Regions from separate parts of the Homo sapiens genome. Here all the other regions are linked to region 1. The links are contacts of gene promoters, found by promoter capture Hi-C in human tissues and cell types (Jung and others, 2019). All regions are on one chromosome and are shown on one strand. The core of a region is centred on a gene start or on the middle of the fragment in contact, and the rest is flanking DNA. Distances in the headings are between cores, read along the strand shown. Region 1 holds the start of CEBPE (CCAAT enhancer binding protein epsilon). Region 2 overlaps RNF212B (ring finger protein 212B). Region 3 overlaps HAUS4 (HAUS augmin like complex subunit 4).

Evidence for each region. The method cuts DNA at HindIII sites, captures the fragments that hold promoters and counts their contacts. A contact is called where the count stands out against the background at its distance.
Region 2: a contact is called between a fragment that was not itself captured here and the fragment with the promoter of CEBPE in region 1, in 1 of the 25 tissues and cell types used here (mesenchymal stem cells).
Region 3: a fragment that was not itself captured here is called in contact with the fragment with the promoter of CEBPE in region 1 in 3 of the 25 tissues and cell types used here (dorsolateral prefrontal cortex, mesenchymal stem cells and thymus).

Annotation. Positions count from the first base shown.
Region 1 is chr14:23,117,290-23,120,504 of GRCh38, forward strand. CEBPE (CCAAT enhancer binding protein epsilon) reads right to left here and starts at 1,966. Exons shown (of 2, transcript NM_001805.4): 1 at 1,293-1,966; 2 at 17-533. The coding sequence starts at 1,802. The coding sequence ends at 198. RefSeq lists enhancers at 2,605-2,684, 2,765-3,215. The HindIII fragment of the contact is 12,579 bases long and covers 1-3,215 here.
Region 2 is chr14:23,250,196-23,253,754 of GRCh38, forward strand. The region is part of intron 4 of RNF212B (ring finger protein 212B); the gene reads left to right. Among named protein-coding and RNA genes, the nearest start is that of RNF212B, 14 kb to the left of the region's middle. RefSeq lists a silencer at 1,885-2,179. The HindIII fragment of the contact is 5,432 bases long and covers 1-3,559 here.
Region 3 is chr14:22,949,860-22,953,472 of GRCh38, forward strand. It overlaps HAUS4 (HAUS augmin like complex subunit 4), which reads right to left. Exons shown (of 10, transcript NM_001166269.2): 3 at 2,682-2,824; 4 at 2,469-2,600; 5 at 1,696-1,830; 6 at 455-551. The region is part of intron 2 of PRMT5-DT (PRMT5 divergent transcript); the gene reads left to right. Among named protein-coding and RNA genes, the nearest start is that of MIR4707, 5.4 kb to the right of the region's middle. The HindIII fragment of the contact is 5,650 bases long and covers 1-3,613 here.

The DNA.
Region 1 (3,215 bases), core at 716-3,215:
GCCAACAGTCCCAACACCCAGTCACAGTGCAACTTTATTCAGCCATATAATCATTATGCTGGGTCCTGCCCTCTTTGCCACCCCGGTTGCCATTTATCCATGGTCTATGTCTCAGGGTTCTAGGCCCCCAGCAGGATGGGGGTCCGCAGAGTTAGGCCGTGCCAGGGAGCCTGGTGCCCACAATCCACCAGCCAGCCTCAGCTGCAACCCCCCACGCCCTTGATGAGGTTGGCCGCCTCAGGAATCTGGCGGAAGAGGTTGCGGAGGGTGTCTAGCTCCTGGGTGAGCTGCTCCACGCGGCTGCGGAGGCGCTCGTTCTCTGCCATGTACTCCAGCACCTTCTGCTGCGTCTCCAGAATGCGCCTCTTGGCCTTGTCTCGGCTCTTGCGCACGGCGATGTTGTTGCGCTCCCGCCTCAGCCGGTACTCAAGGCTATCTTTGTTCACTGCCTTCTTGCCCTTGTGTAAGGGGCCAGCCGGGGAGGGCGCCTTCAGGAGGGGACTGCAGGGGGGTGCGGCAGTGGCCAAAGGGGCCTGGAGGGGAAGGCACGGAGAGACGGAGAGGTGAGGGCTGGCCAGGAGGCAGAGCGGAGGCGGGGCGGGAATCTCGGCAGCCAGGGCACACTTGATGCGTCAAAGGAATACAGGACTCAGAGCCAGCTCCTGTCTCTCAGGTCAAAACTATCATCGCTCTGCTTCTGGGAGATGGTGACCCAGATGCACAGGGTCCTCTGCTTGAGACCAAAACTCCCTTTCATGTTCTCACACTTTCTTTCTTTCTTTTTTTGTAAAGATGGAGCCTTGCTATGTTGTCCAGGCTGGTCTCCAACCCCTGGCCTTAAGCGAACCTCCTGCTTTGGCCTCCCAAAGCGCTGGGATTACAGGCATGAGCCACGACACCCAGCCAATGCTCTCACACTTTCTGAGTACACTTTCCCTCAATCTGCCTTGAGTCTCCCGTTCTATGACCAGTAGACATTTCTCACAGAAGCAGGCGGCAGAGAAACAAGAGGAGGGGGCATGGTGAGCAGCAGAGAGGCTGGCGGTGGGGGCCTGAGATCAAGTAGGTCAGCTTGCCACAGGGGCTTTGGGTGGGGATTCAGGGTGGGAATGAATTCACAGAGAAGGAAAGGGAGGTCATGGTGGGGTGTGAACACAGAGGACTGTGGGTTGGGTCCATTTCACAGAGCGACACCAAGCACAGGCTCAGCAGCATGAGCCGGGGCACAGGGTCCTGTCCACACCAGCCTCTCCAGCCCCGGGCAGGAGGGAGGAGGGCTGGCCTGCTCTTACCTTGAGAACGCGCAGAGGCTGGCCGGGTGCTGCCAGAGTTGGGGGCAGGTGCATGGCTGTCTGCCCACAGTGTGCCACTTGGTACTGCAGGGGATTGTAGCTGCCTCGGCTGGCAGCTCGGCTGCCCTCTGGCCCCCGGGGCTCCTCCTTCACCGCCACAGCCCTGGGGTCGTAGCTCCCTGGGCTGCTGTAGATGCCAGGCCCCAGCGCCTTCCTGTCTGGGCCGAAGGTATGTGGAGGGTAGGCAAAGGGCCGAGGGTCAGGCGGCAAGTAGTGGGGGAAGGCAGGGGTTCCGGGGCCCTTGAGGCCTCTGGCCTCAGGCGCTGGCTTCACGGCAAAGAGATCGGAGAGAAGCTGCTCTTCCCCAGACTCGATGTAGGCGGAGAGGTCAATGGAGGCCTCATGCTCACACATGTCCCCTAGCTCCCCGGGCCCAGCTCGGCCCCCTGAGAACTCGAGTGGCTGCTGGCCACCCCGGGGCTCACACTCGTAGTAGGTCCCGTGGGACATGGCCGGCCCGCCCCCTCGGCTCCCCGCCCCCACCTGCTCTTGAGGCACCCCTTGGGGTGCTCCGGCTGCCCTCTCTCTACCTCCTCCTGACCTGGGCCTGCCCTCTCTCGATCTTCTGCCCTAGACCTGCCCTCTGCAGTCTCCTCTGTCACCCACTCCTGTGTGGCCTCTCTCCCCCCTCTGCTCTGCTTCCTTTTCCTTCCTCTGTAGTCAATGCCTCTCTTCTCTTCCCTTTTTTCCCCTCTCTCCCCTTGGGGTGACTCAGGGAGGGGCAGGACACACCCCAGAGGGAGAGATGTAAGCCTTAGAGAAAGGCGACTCCTGGCCTATTCAGCAGTTGGGGACACTCCTTGGTCAGGGACCAAGCCAGGGTTCTGGAGATGCCCGAAGCTGATGCTTCTGGGAATGCCTCTCCACTCCCTGCTGGGAGGCCAGGGGACTCCAAATCCTCGCAGAGGGCAACACCCCACTCTGAGCAACCTCCTCCCTCCGACTTTGAAAAAGTTCTATGCAGAATGAGGTTCCAAGTTAGAGTGAAGAGAGAAAGCCCTCTTCCAGTGCCTACCCTCAGTTGGGTCTCACCTCCTCCCTTGACACGCCTTCCTCTGGCTCTCCCCTGCTGCTGGGCTCCACCTACCCCCAAGAGAAAGTTTCTTTTGTAGCCCCACCTCCCAGAGCATTCTCTGAGTGTAGGCCAGGGTTTGTTTTTTGAGGGGTCTAGGGAGTAGTGATAGGTCCTAGGAACAAGCTCTACACGCGAGCCTGCGTGGTGCTCCAGAGCATGCTCATTTGCTAGGTTTTTGCACAGGAGCTGTGCAATAGCCCACATGTTAGTGCGTTTCCAGCCCTAGCTACCTCTAGCAGCCTGGTACACTTCCTAACTCCCTGGGCTTGGCCAAAGCACCTGGTCAGGACTTGGGCCTTGCACCGCAGGCCTAGGCAGGTTGCTGCCCTCGGAGTAGACAGCCATAATCCTCCGGTGGCTCCAGCACTTCTCTCTTCCAGCTGCTCTGTGCTGCAAGAGGCTCAGGCTGGTGCTTCGCCCCTCACCCTGGGCCTGAGGCTCTGCCTCTGGTTTCCTGTGCCTGGGCTGCAGGGCTTAGGAGCTTGCTGCAGCTCGTTTGCTGTCTTTCCTTTTGCATGGCCGCTCTCTGATCTCCAATGCGTGTCTCTTGGGTCTACTTCCTCTTGTGAGGTTTGAGAAGCCTCTTATGTCATCACCTCTTCCTGGGGCTCTGTTTTAGGGTCTCCAGGAGAAGCCCATGGCTCCCTCTCTGCAATTCTTTGTTCTGTGCTGGCTCTCCTCTTCCCTTTTCTCTTTCCTTTGGGAACTCCCCACTACCTCCTTTCAGAGACACCTGCTCTGGTACTGCTTTTACCTGTTGAATTTCATCTCCAAAAGGGATTGTAGGT
Region 2 (3,559 bases), core at 536-3,035, 130 kb after region 1:
TAGGCCAGCCGTGGTGGCTCACGCCTCTAATCCCAGCACTTTTGGAGGCTGAGGGGGTGGATCACTTGAGGTCAGGGGTTCAAGATCAGCCTGGCCAATATGGTAAAACCCTGTCTCTACTAAAAATACAAAAAATTAGCCAGGTGTCATGGTGGCGCGTGCCTGTAATGCCAGCTGCTTGGGAGGCTGAGGCATGAGAATTGCTTGAACCTGGGAGGCAGAGGTTGCAGTGAGCCTAGAATGTGCCACTGCACTCCAGCCTGGGTGACAGAGCGAGACTCTGTCTCAAAAAAAAAAAAAAAGACTGAATTAATAATTACCTCTTAATCATTATCTCTATATCTTGTAAGTACTTGTGTTCTGCGTATAACCTAGTGTTTTACTTATTAGTTCATGTGTCAGAATGTCTCTTCTACTAGACTGTGATAAGCTACTGTAAACCCGGAAAATCTGAGACAAGTCTCAGTTAATTTAGAAAGTTTATTTTGCCAAGATTGAGGACATGCGCCTCAGAAGGTTCAGACGACATGTGCCCAAGGTGGTCAGAGTACAGTTTGGTTTTATACATTTTAGGGAGACATGAGACATCAATCAACATATGTATGATGAACATTGGTTCGATCGGGAAAGGTGGGACAGCTCAAAGTGGGAAGGGGCTTCTAGGTCATAGGTAGATAAGAGACCAATGGTTGCCTTCTTTTGAGTTTCTGATTAGCCTCTCCAAAGGAGGCAATCAGATATGCATGTATCTCAGTGAGCAGAAGGGTGACTTTGAATAGAATGAAAGGCAGGTTTGCCCTGAGCATTTCCCAGCTTGGCTTTTCCCTTTAGCTTAGTGATTTGGGGGGTCCAACATATTTTCCTTTGACACTACTAAAAGACAAGAACCCATACTATTCATCTTAGCATTTCCAGTTCTTATGCCTGACGTAAAGTGTTCAGTAAAGGTTTGCTAAATGGAAAGATGAATAATATTTGCACTATATATTTTCTGCCCCTGTGTGAGATGTTTTCTGATACCAACCAGTTCTCTGACACCAACTAGGTATGCAACAATTCAATTCAATTCAATTCAATTCTAACACTAATTCCTAGAGTTTTAGTATCATACTTCACATGTTTAGGGCTCAGCCTCACAAGACTGCCCCGACTCTGGACACCAGCCACAAATGGGGTACCCAGGCTAAAATACTTCAGACTGGCCAACAACAAACTTGAGGATTCCCATGAACTTCCTCCTGCTCCCACAAGCTTCAATAATTTGCTAGAATGACTCACAGAACTCAGAAAAGTACTTTGTTTATTATTACCAGTTTATTATAAAAGATACAACATAGGGGCCAGGTGCAGTGGCTCACGCCTGTAATCCCAGCACTTTGGGAGGCTGAGGCGGGCAGATCACCTGAGGTCAGGAGTTCGAGACCAGCCTGGCCAACATGGTGAAACCCTGCCTCTACTAAAAATACCAAAAGTAGATGGGTGTGGTGGCGGGCGCCTGTAATCCCAGCTACTCTGGAGGCTGAAGCAGGAGAATCACTTGAACCTGGGAGGTGGAGGTTGCAGTGAGCCAAGATTGTGCCACCACACTCCAGTCTGGCAACAGAGTGAGACTCTGTCTCAAAAAAAAAAAGAAAGAAAGAAAACCATATATCATGGAAATAGCCAAATGGAAAAGATGCAAAGTATGTGAGGAGGGGTGCAGAGCTTCCATACCCTCTCCAGATGCACTACCCTCCCAGCACCTCCAAGTGTTCACCAACTTGGTAACTCTCTGAACCGCCTTGTTCAGGAGTTGTTATGAACGTTCCATTACATAGGCATGATTGATTAAAGAATTTGTCATTGGCGATTGAACTCAATCTCTAGCCCCTTTTCCCTCTCTGATTGTCAGGGGTTGGGGGGCGTGGGAAGAAAGGTTGGGACCCCAACCCTCTAAACAGTGTTTGGTTCCCCTGGCAACAAGTCCCCATTTTGATGCTACCTAGGACCCACCAAGAGTCACCTCATTAGCACACATTCAGGTATGGTTGAAAGGAGCTTGTTATGAATAACAAAAGATGCTCCTATCACTCAGGAAATGCCAAAGGTTTTAGTAACTCTGTGAGGAACCAGGGGCGAAGACCATATATGTATTTCTTACACCACACCCTGTTCAAAAGATCCCCCTCAAAATCAGCCCATTAAAAAAAAGTTTATTATGATTTCATCACATGTAATTTCAAATGTTTAAAAGAATATAATGATATGTATAATATAATTAATTTCTGAACCATATCAGGTTCATTGCCCAGTGCATGGCAAATTAGTACACCAAGACACTGGGTTGCAGCAGAGAAAGGGGTTTAATCATAAGACAGCTGAACAAGGAGATAGGAAACCTCAAATTTGCCTCCAGGAGGAGTTTGAGGCTAGAGGTTTTTAAAGGGTTGGACAGGTAGTAAGCCAAGGTGTGGGGATCATTGATTGGTTAAGGAATGCAGGTTGAAGTCATGAGAAGCGGGGATGAAGAAATTGCATTCTCATGCTGATTCAGTTCCTCTGTGGGGGTCTTTAGACTCACTGTTCCACTGGAATTCAGGATCTGAAAACTATCTTAAGCAACTTTTAAGCAAAAGCCTTATGATTCTAATGTCATATTCTATTTATGAGAACAATGAGGATGCAAATGGTCAGCATCTAGTGTGATGTGACTTTCGCAGCTAAAAGGAAGTGGGCCAAGTGCAGCCTGATTAATGCTTAATTATAACTATATTTCTGTCCAGAGCCAAGCATGTAATTCTTGTTAAACCCTATGAGGACGGTTTATTTTCATGCATCCATCACTCCACTTCAACAATTATCAGTGAATGGCCAGTTTTCCTCCATCCATACCTCTTGCCACCCCCACCCAGATTATTTTAAAGCCAAAACCAAATATTACGTCATTTCTATCTGTAAACATTTCAGTGTGTATCTCTAAAAGATAGGAACTTTTTTCTTAAATATAACCACATCATGCTAAAATAACAATTCCATAATATTATCAAATTATCAGTCCCCATTCACATTTCTCCAGTTGTCTCAGTTTTAAAATGTTCCCACATTTTGAATTGAGTTTCAATAAAGGTATATATTTCAGTTGGTTATTATGTCTCTTAAGTTTCTTTTACACTATAAGTTTTCTCTTGTTTCTTTTTAAGTTATTATTGAAGAAAATGGTCTTTTGTCTATAGAGTTGTTCACAGTGTGGATTTTGTTTATTGTACCTATGGAGTCATTTCATATGTTCCTCTGTCCTCTATTTCTTGTAAATTGTTAGGTAAGTTTAGGGTTTATCACCATCATTGGTTTGGGGGCGGGGAAAGGTGAGGCAAGACCACTTTATTCTAGTGTTGTATTCCACCAAGAGGTACTTAATGGTCTATGTCTCTTATTTTGTATGAGGGTAGCCATTGATGAACTTTGCAGAGATCCTTAATTCATTAGAAGTTGTAAAATTCCAATTCTGTCATCCTTTCTTATTTTTTTAGTTGGAGTACTTCTAAAGAGAAATGTCCTTTTATCAAGCAAATGATTATCC
Region 3 (3,613 bases), core at 46-2,545, 170 kb before region 1:
GGCTCACACCTGTAATCCCAGCACTTTGGGATGCCGAGGCAGGCGGATCACCTGAGGTTGGGAGTTCCAGACCAGCCTAATCAACATGGAGAAACCCCATCTCTACTAAAAATACAAAATTAGCCGAGCGGGGTGGCGCATGCCTGTAATCCCAGCTACTCGGGAGGCTGAGGCAGGAGAATCACTTGAATCTAGGAGGAGGAGCTTGCGGTGAACAGAAATGGCGCCATTGCACTCTAGCCTGGGCAACAGGAGCAAAACGCCATCTCAAAAAAAAAAAAAAACAAAAAAACAAAAAGTCCTTGTTTTTATTCTACCAGCAACAAAACAAATAAGCATCTCTGATGGTTCTAAACCTCTGTCCCAAATCTAAAATCAAAATATATTATTCTCAAAAGAGCAGACCAGGAACCCTGAAGTCCAGCTGTGAGCAGAACAGACAGCTAGCACTCACCTGAATTGGGATCATAGTAGCAGAGCAGAGTGAAACATTTCTTTTTGAGCTGCTCCTCTACTTCTTGCTGTAGCCGAGCCCTCATCCACACAAAATCCTACAGTCATAGAAGTAAAGGCAGAAATGCGAATAGACTGTAAAAACTAGGACGTCTCAGCCAATGAATACATGATGATAACCTCAATAATAGCCAAAGAAAATGCATCAAGAGACATCAGAGAGACTCATTTTTCACCTATCAAATTAGCGAAGAATAAAATGACTGTCAAGACCCCATGTTGGTGAGAACATGGGGGATCCAGGAGCCCTGAAAATACCTTTCTGGATAGCAGTTTGGCATTAGGTACCAATATTCTGTATGAGTATGCACTGACTCAGGAATCCCACTTTTAGCACCAGCATTACAGAAATAATCATACAAAGGTAAAGACACATATGAACCAGCATGTTCATCTCCCTGTGGTTTCTAACAGCAAAAATGTGGAAACAACCTTAATATCCACCAATAAGGTTAAGCAAATTATTCTACATCCATATAATAGAATCCTAGCAGAGATTTAAACTGATGACATAACACTAAGCACTATGTGCCTAGATACTTTGCTAACAGTGCTATAGAAGCTATCATCTTATTTACATTTATGTATTGACTTGAAAAGAAATCCAAAATATATTACATGAAAATAGACTGTACTTTTCTTTTTTTGAGACAGGGTCTCACTCTGTGCCCAGGCTGGAGTACAGTGGCATGATCACAGCTCACTACAGCCTTGACCTCCCACCCTCAAGTCATCCTCCTGCCTCTGTCTCCCGAGTAGCTGGGACTACAGGTGTGCACCACCAAACCTGGCTTTTGTTTTGTTTTTTTTTTGGTAGAGACGAGGTCTCACTATGTTGCCCAGGCTGGTCTTGAACTCCTGAACTCAAGTGATCCTCCCACCTCAGCCTCCCAAAGTGCTACGATTATAGGCGGAAGTCACTACACTCGGCCTTATACTCTCTATATAAGCATGAAGGGTATAATACCATTTATGTCAAGCTGTTTATAATAATATTGTGCTTCTAGATGCAGTATTTCAGCTTTTACTTGCTCCTGTGTAACGTTTTTCTTATTTGAGTCTGACCACCCTGAATGTGTATCATTTTTACAAAAACAATAAAGCTTGACAAAAAAAACATTTTAAAGATATGGGAGAAATTAAACCATTTCATTTATTTGGTTCCAATATCTCCCCGCCAACCTCTGAGAGTGGCATGAGTTCCAGAAGGTCCGCTTTCTCCAGCCCCAGCAGTGGAGGTATCTCCCTCTCCTGGCTAGGACCTAAGAGCCGCATCAGTTCAGTTACAAGCAGCCGCTGTTCAAGGGTCTCATGAAACTGAGAGAGAGAGAATAAAAAACAAAAAGAGGCAACTATAAAACTTCTCCCACTCCACCTCTTCCATCCTTATGAACCAGTTTTTCACATATTTTCAAAGTCCTCAAATATATCATCCCCCCTCAGATAACTCAGCTGCGAGTGACTTCTGTCAATGTTTCTATTACAAACTCTGATAACACATCCACTCCTTCCCCATAACTACAGTCCATTTCTCTTTTGACAAACCATTTCTCAAAGCTCCTACTTCCCCTAGATCACATCATCAGACAAAGCCACAGTTGGCCTGGTCATTCCTGTAACTGGTAACCAACCCCACCTCATTTCTTTCACCTCACTTTTTTTTGAGACTGAGTTTCGCTCTGTCACCCAGGCTGGAGTGCTGTGGCGCAATCTCGGCTCACTGCAATCTCCGCCTCCCAGGTTCAAGCGATTCTGCTGCCTCAGCCTCCCGAGTAGCTGGGATTACAGGCGTGTGCCACTGCACCTGGTTAATTTTTGTATTTTTAGTAGAGACGGGGTCTTACCATGTTGGCCAGGCTGGTCTCAAACTCTTGACCTCAAGTGATCAGCCTGCCTGGGGCTCCCAAAGTGCTGGGATTACAGGTGTTAGCCACCACGCCCAGCCTTTGCCTCACCTTTTTGTCCTCAGAAGTTACATTTGTGTCTTGTATCTTCACATAGTAGTCCACAAGCAACTCTTGAATGACTCTGTGTAAAATCTCAGACCTCAACCATGTTGTCTTATGCAGTCGAACTTCCTTCCATGCCTAGAAATCCAAAAAATCTCAGGTAGGAACCTCTCTCTCAGGATTTTCCCTTCTTCTTATCTCTTCTCCCAAAGCCCTTACCTGAGCCTGCTCCTTTGCTAGGGTGAGGCTTAAGCCACTCTCATCCACATGCTGTGAGAGATTCAGGAGAAGCTTGCTGAAGTATGGGTTCTGTAACAGGTCCTCTTTACTCAGGTTACAAGGAGGAAGTTGTTTGCTGCACACTTAACATCATGTCCCCACAGGTACAAAAAAACAAAAAAGGTGTGGACTCTTACTTTACATAACTGAGCATAACTTAATACTTCCAAAAAACCCCTAGGATTTTTATAGGAAAGATTGCTAAATCTAATGAGATTTTTTAAAAATCCACAAATAAACAAGGGTAATATTCAAGGTAACAAGCATTTATATTATATACAAGGATATTAAGGGGGAATAAGTAATAAACTAAGATCTTAGGAAACGGAAATGCAGTTGGTACATATTAGACAAATAGAATAAAAATTAAGGGACCGTTAGTAGGAATCACAATACACAAAATGCCTCATTCATCCAAAATTAATAGAGTTCTTGAAGTAGGGGGAAAGAAACACAACACGTGAAGTTCCAACTTTGGATGTGATATGTAGTCGCATAAACAAGACTAACAGAATACACTTAGAGTAAGTTAAACGTTCAACTAACCAATTTTTTTTTTTTCTTTTTGAGACAGGGTCTCACTCTGTCACCCAGGCTGGAGTGCAGTGGCACAATCACAGCTCACTGCAGCCTTAACCTCCCCAGATCAAGCGATCCTTCCACCTCCTGAGGAGCTGAGACTACAAGGCAAACCACGATGACTGGCTAATTTTTTTTTTACAGACAGGGTCTCACTACATTGCCCAGGCTGGTCTTGAACTCTTGGGCTCAAGTGATCCTCCCACCTTGGCATCTCAAAGTGCTGGGATTACAGGTGTGAGTCACCACAGCTGGCCCAAATTCTTTTTTATTTTTTTCTTTTGAGATGGAGT